Regions from separate parts of the Homo sapiens genome. Here region 2 is linked to region 1. The links are contacts of gene promoters, found by promoter capture Hi-C in blood cells and fetal thymus (Javierre and others, 2016). All regions are on one chromosome and are shown on one strand. The core of a region is centred on a gene start or on the middle of the fragment in contact, and the rest is flanking DNA. Distances in the headings are between cores, read along the strand shown.

Evidence for each region. Contacts are between HindIII fragments. The CHiCAGO score rates a contact against its expected background, and 5 or more counts as called.
Region 2: a fragment that was not itself captured here is called in contact with the fragment with the promoter of ZNF134 in region 1 in 1 of 17 cell types (total CD4 T cells); the score reaches 6.1 in total CD4 T cells.

What each region holds. Positions count from the first base shown.
Region 1 is chr19:57,612,628-57,616,003 of GRCh38, reverse strand. ZNF134 (zinc finger protein 134) reads right to left here and starts at 1,762. Exons shown (of 3, transcript NM_003435.5): 1 at 1,501-1,762. It also overlaps a transcript of ZNF530 not described here. RefSeq lists a silencer at 1,508-1,557 and an enhancer at 1,688-1,867. The HindIII fragment of the contact is 2,580 bases long and covers 1-2,185 here.
Region 2 is chr19:44,174,451-44,177,826 of GRCh38, reverse strand. ZNF226 (zinc finger protein 226) reads right to left here. Exons shown (of 6, transcript NM_001032373.2): 6 at 142-2,329. The coding sequence ends at 153. Among named protein-coding and RNA genes, the nearest start is that of ZNF226, 11 kb to the right of the region's middle. The HindIII fragment of the contact is 8,400 bases long and covers 1-3,376 here.

The DNA.
Region 1 (3,376 bases), core at 513-3,012:
TACAGCCCTCTCCTCTTGCTGACACTATAAGATATAATAAAATTCCTCTTCAAAGGTTTAGCCTGTTAACTTCCTTGTTCTTTGTTCTCAAACCTTTCTTGTTCTCCATGCCTCCTTGCCCCTAGTTACTATAAACAACCTTCCTGTAAGCACTAACCAATAATTCACATCTGTTCCCTTACTCACTTTGCACCCATTGCCCCCGCCAAAACCACACGTCCTACACAACTCACATGTCCCACCACTGTAACTCACCTTCCCCTTCCCTCTTCCTTATTTGGAAAATACTCACAAATACCCAATTGGCTCAGCTTAGATTAAGCGGTCCGACCCCAGCCCATGGGGGAGTGACACAGAGGAAGGTAGGGACTATGGGTTAGAGATAAAAACCCCTTCCCTCCTTTGTTCAGTGTGCTCTTGGGATCGTGATTAACACAGGCAGCACACTTGCACAGAAGTAAATTGCCTTGCTGAGAAAACTTTTGCCTGAGTGCTGGTTTCACTTTGCAGCACCAAGCATTGACTTCCAACAACACCATCTAGAATGCTTTCACATGCCAGGACCCCTCCTTTCTGGAAGGAATCTTAAGTGTCCACCCCTTCATCCCTGGCCTTCCACCCTAAACCCACCTCTCACTTCAGAGACCACACAAAATAACTTCCTTGAAATTCCACCCTCTAAATCTGATCTACTACAGGCTTTGACCTTATGCCTCACCCATTGAAGTCTCTAGCACAACTCCCTCTCTAGAACCCCAGACCTGCATGTTCAGCTACCCGTGATGAACCTCCAGTGCAGAACACCTTAGATTCACCAAGTCCAAAACCCAATTCCTGATGCCCCTGAAACGTGCTCCCTGCTGTGACTTACCAATTTCCATTCTTTCACACGTTCAGGAAGGAAAACAGGCCAAAAAAACCCTGGATAGCCCTTTCCTCCCTACATTCACTCACGACCACATCTGATGCGGCAGGAAACCCCATTGGTTCCATCTTTAAAAATCTACCCAGAATCTCATGACTTCCCCACCCAACCCCTCCTGCCACTGCTCTGGCCCAGCCACCACCGCAACACTTCTGGAGTTTGTTGCAGGGACCTCCTCAAACGTCTCCTTGCCTCCATCCTCATCGTTTCTACCTCACTGTAGTCGGTTTCCTCCTCAGCAAACATTGGAATACTTTAAAAATCCTTTTTCGGATCCCTTCCCTCCACCATTCAAAACCCGCCATGGCTCCTATCGTCCTCGCAATGAAGGAGCAACTTCTCCCCTCGACATTGCAGGCCTGACTACGGTTCACACACGCTCCCGACTGCTACGGGCTCAGTCCAGCTCCAAACCTATGCTCAGGCTGCCCCTCTGCCAGTCACACTCGCCCCCACCCACCAGCGCCCCGCTGCCTTGGACACTGGGGCCTGCGCTGCAGGGACTCAGACAGGCGCTCCTCATTTGGAACTTCAGGATTTGGGGCGGGCGAAAGTCTGGGAAAGGCAGCACCCACCTGCGCCGGGCCCATCACCGCGGCCGCCGCCATCACAGTTCGTAGACCACCCGGAGCCGCGAGGGGGTCCCAGGTCGCGGGACCCTGGCACCGCGGTCGTCCGTCCCCGGGGGCGCAGGCGGGGTCTTCGCTGGCGAGCCACTCCGCAGAGCGAACAGCGACTTCTCCCGCACCCTCCCGCTTCCGTCACCTCGGAACCGCCCAGCAACCCCGAGCTTCTGCTCCGATGGTTCCACCTAAGAGCCGACAAGATGTCCACCGCGAGGAAGATACCGGAAGTCCCGCCCAGAGAGCTTCCGTCCGCAGGGAGACGCCCCTAAGAGTGCCGCCGCCGGGCGGCGCACAGGTTTCTGGGCAATGCAGTTCTCATGTGCACTTGGCCGTGGTGACGGCTAACTCCCCTGCACGCTGGGCAAAGGCCAAATGGTACTGCGAGGGGCGCTGAGAAATTATGCCCTGAGACTCTGAGGTCAGGGCGTGGCTTCGCTCCTTTTAAAGGACCCTCAACCAGGTCTTGTGTAGTGAGGTCTGCAGGGATCCCCGAAATATTGGGATATATTCTTACAGATGTTCCCTGAAGCCACACCACCAAATGGACACACAACATCCAATGTCACTCTGAGTCCACTCATAGTTCAGTCAAATTTCCTTCATTTAAAAAATATGTGTACTGTAGAGGGAAGCTTTGAGTCAGTTTTGTGAGCCTCAGTTGGGTCAGAGTTAACAGAGAATTGTCCCCAGGCAGGGCCATGGAGTGGAAGAATGGTCTCCAGACAGTGGCTATGGAGGGATGCTGGAGCTCCCTGAGGCAAGTGGACTAATATAGAGCTCTTCCTCTGGTTTCCTCAGAAAAAAAATACCTGAGAGAACCATGAGGAGGAAGACAGGCGAGAGAAGGTGGTCAAGGAAGGCACCTTTCCTGCCTGTATGGTCACTAATGTCCAACCAAAGGAGAAATATTCTTTTATCCAAATGAGAGTTCCTAGCCCAAAAGTTGAGATATATCTATTTCCTTTTGGTGATGTTTCTTATCTGAAAAGAAGAACCATTATAAATGCTTTTATATGCCAAGACAGGGGCTGAAAATGTGGTGTCTGAACCCAGAAATAAAGATTTGGAAAATTGGGATCAGATTTCTTGGCTGGGAGGTGATTCTCATTTCACCTGCAATTACACCGACAGTGTCTGAATTGAGAATTGAGATTTATTTATGGTTTTAAAAAAGAAAAGGGCGAGTGTATGGGGAAAGAAAGACAAAAACATTTGTGAATTGTTTAAATTACTCAAAAGTTGTTTTGTGTTTTTTTTTTTTGAGACGGAGTCTTGCTCAGTCGCCCAGGCTGGAGTGCAGTGGTGCGACCATAGCTCACTGCAGGCTCCGCCTCCCAGGTTCACACTATTCTCCTGCCTCAGCCTCCGGAGTAGCTGGGATTACAGGCGCCTGCCACCATGCCCGGCTAACTTTTTGTATTTTTAGTAGAGATGGGGTTTCACCGTGTTAGCCAGGATGGTCTCGATCTCCTGACCTCGTGATCTGCCCGCCTCAGCCTCCCAAAGTGCTGGGATTACAGGAGAGCCCCCGCGCCCGGCCAAATTACTCAAAGTTAATAATTCTGTAGTTATTCACAGATACATGACGAAATGGACCTGGAGAAACATATCTGTGATAAGTGAAAACGGTTAAGATGACAGCAAAATTTGAGCAGGAGACATTGAATTCTGAGAAGTGAGCAAATGAAGCTGAGCACACAGCTGTGTTAGAACTATGACTACAAGCAGCGTTTAGTCTCCAAAATGTAATTTTATTTATTTATTTAATTTTGGAGACAGGATCTCACTGTGTTGCACAGGCTGGAGTGTAGTGGCACGATCATAG
Region 2 (3,376 bases), core at 470-2,969, about 13 Mb after region 1:
CAAGGTTCTGACTAAAGAAGCCCTTGCTATGCTAATCATAAAGATTGTTTTGTTGTCTTTGGACCACTGGGACATGAGGAGCTACGGCTGAAACACTGACTTTGAGACTTGATAACTGGAAGAATTCAAATGACACGAGTCTTCACAAAGAATCATTTTATAGATTTTTTTTCCTGTGTGGATTCTCTGATGTTCTTACCACCCCTATTACTTTTATAGGATTTATCACCAACATGGATTCTGTGATGAACTGTAAGATTTGATCGCCAACTGAAGCTCTTACCACATATCTCACATTTATAAGGTTTCTCCCCAGTGTGAACTCGCTGATGAGACTGTAGTTGTGAAGACCGACTGAAGACTTTACCACACACATCACATTTGTATGGTTTCTCTCCTGTGTGGACACTCTGATGAAGTTGAAGACTTGAGGCCTGACTGAAGTACTTACCACACTCCCCACATTTATATGGTTTTTCTCCTGTGTGCACCCTCTGATGCATGTCAAGGTTCAAGCTCCACTTGAAGCCCTTCCCACACTCATCACATTTGTATGGCTTATCTCCAGTGTGGACTTTTTGATGGGCTTGAAGATGTGCACTCCGACCGAAACTCTTCCCACATTCTTCACATTTGAATGGTTTTTCTCCACTGTGGACTCTCTGATGGGCCAAAAGATTTGAGGCCTGCCTGAAGACCTTCCCACACTCCTCACAATTATATGGTTTCTCTCCTGTGTGGATCCTACAGTGAATTTTAAGATCTGCTCTACGACTAAATCCCTTGCCACACTCTTCACATTTGTATGGTTTCTCACCCGTATGGATCAGCTGGTGAATCTGAAGTCGTGAGCTCTGATTGAAACCCTGCCCACACTCCTCACACTTAAAAGGTTTCTCTATACTGTGGGCCTTCTGATGGATTTGAAGATACGAACTTTGACTGAAGCCCTTCCCACATATCTCACATTTATAGGGTTTCTCTCCTGTGTGGACCACTAGATGAACTTGATAATGGGAATTCCTCCTGAAGCTCTTCCCACACTCATTGCATTTGTATGGCTTCTCTCCAGTGTGGACTCTCTGATGGGCTTGAAGATTTGAACTCAGAGTAAAGCCTTTCCCACATACAGTACATATGTATGACTTCTCTCCAGTGTGAACTCCCTGATGGGCCTGAAGACTTGAAGGCCGACTAAAGCCTTTACCACATTCCTCACATTTATAGGGTTTTTCTCCTGTGTGGACTCTCTGATGAATGTAAAGATTTGAGCTACAAATGAAGCCCTTACCACACTCCTCACATTTGTATGGTTTCTCTCCTGTATGAACTCTTTGATGGGATTGAAGATGTGAATTCCGACTGAAGCTCTTACCACATGCATCACATTTGAATGGCTTCTCCCCAGTGTGGAGTCTCTGATGGTCCTGAAGATGAGAGGCCTGACTGAAGGCCCTCCCACACTCCTCACAATTATAAGGTTTCTCTGCCGTGTGGACCTTGCAATGAACATTAAGTGCTGATCTACGACTGAAACCTTTCCCACATTGCTTACATTTGTATGGTTTCTCTATCACGTGGACTTTCTGATGGGTCTGTAGATGAGCGCCCTGACTGAATTCCTTACCACACTCATCACACTTAAGTTTTTCTCCCACATGTACTTTCTGATGAACAGGAAGAACTGGGCTGTAACAGAAGCCTTTTCCACGCTCAACACATGTAAGAGACTTCTCTCCTGATTGTAACTGCTGATGAAGATCAAAGCTGGAGAGATCACTGAAGGGTTTTTTACACTCATTACACTGGTACGATTTCTGTCCTGTGTGAATCATGCTATTGTGATCAAATGTCAAAATCTTCATGTTGTCTTTTTCATAATCATTGGGTCTATAAGATTTTTCACTTTTGTGTACTCTATGACCATCATGATGTGAAATCCAACCGATGGGATCAACACCCTTCTTACATTGACATAATTTATTTTTTATGGAAATTTGCTGATCTCTGTTCAATCTCTGTGACTCAGTCAGGAATGTTTTCCTCCAAGAATCCTGGGTTCTCAAGATAGGAAACTCTGGATTCCCAGTATTATTGGGACCATCTGCTTTATTTACTATATAGTTCTCATCTTCAGAAATTTGAATAGACAGTTCTGTCCCTACCTGGTAAGGGAAATCACCTTGTTTGTGACACTGAGAATTATTGATCATGGAGTCTTGACACCTGGTTAAGTCATTTGCAATTTGTTGCCAGATTTGCCAACAAGAAAGCTCTTCTTCTGATTCTCTGTCTTGAACAGTAATTAACTTACTTTGATTTTTCTCTCCTGTAAGGACAAAGGATTCAGAGAGATAGTGAATTTTTTTGTTCAAAGATTTAAGATTTCACACTGAGGACAGAGTAAAAGACTTTAATGAACCTCGGGATAGTTCTGCTCATCTTTTGTGACACATTTGAAGTTTCTGGTTTACATACTGACAGAAACCAAGAGATGGTCCAAAACCAAGAGATGGTCCACCAAGCTCCCAATTGCTAAGCACTAATGAAACCCATTTAAAAACACAACTACTGACATACTATCTAAATTTTTTATTCCATGTCTTTCCTACCATAATATGGTATCAATAAGGAAAAACATTTTGTAGTGCTCACAGTTTACAACCACAGCCCAGAAGTTACTGCCCGGCAGTCATTCATAGTCACTCAAGGAATGTATGCATATATGAGTCCTTCCAACATTTCTTCATATATAAATGACTTCCAACATTTCTTCTAACTTCAAATCCAAGTTTAAGTTTGAGCCAGGTCATAGAGCAAAAGAGCTTTTACAAGTAAGGTATCTGAAATACAAAAAGAACTAGAAAGTACAGTTTTGCTGCAAAGTTGAAAAGCTGTACCTGAGGTAGGGGTACACCAAGTGAGTTATTGCTGAAGAGAAAAATCAAAGTTGATAATCACTTGGGGTGAAAGGAAAGCATGAAGACCTATGCACTGGATCCTTCTAAGGCTTTTGCACTGAGTCAAAATTGGAAGGCTAGCAAAGAATGCTGTCTCTTTGAAAGCAAGGTATAGAAAGTTTCTGGATGTAGATATGTTTGTCTTTAACAAGAATGTTTTCCAAATTGACAAAGTGGTCTACTAGTCAATTGTGAAATAAATTTAATAGCTTGTGATATTTAGGAAAAAAAAACAGATAAAGTATCATATCAGAATAATCACAAGCAGTAATGGTGTCATTACATAAAAGGCCTTCTAAAGACATACATATAAGCCTACACGATATAAATGTTTGAGAGGCAACAATGTAAGATCCATTTCTTTTTATGAATGTGGACTTTGGAAGAAGCAAATGGGATGCAACTGTGCAAACATT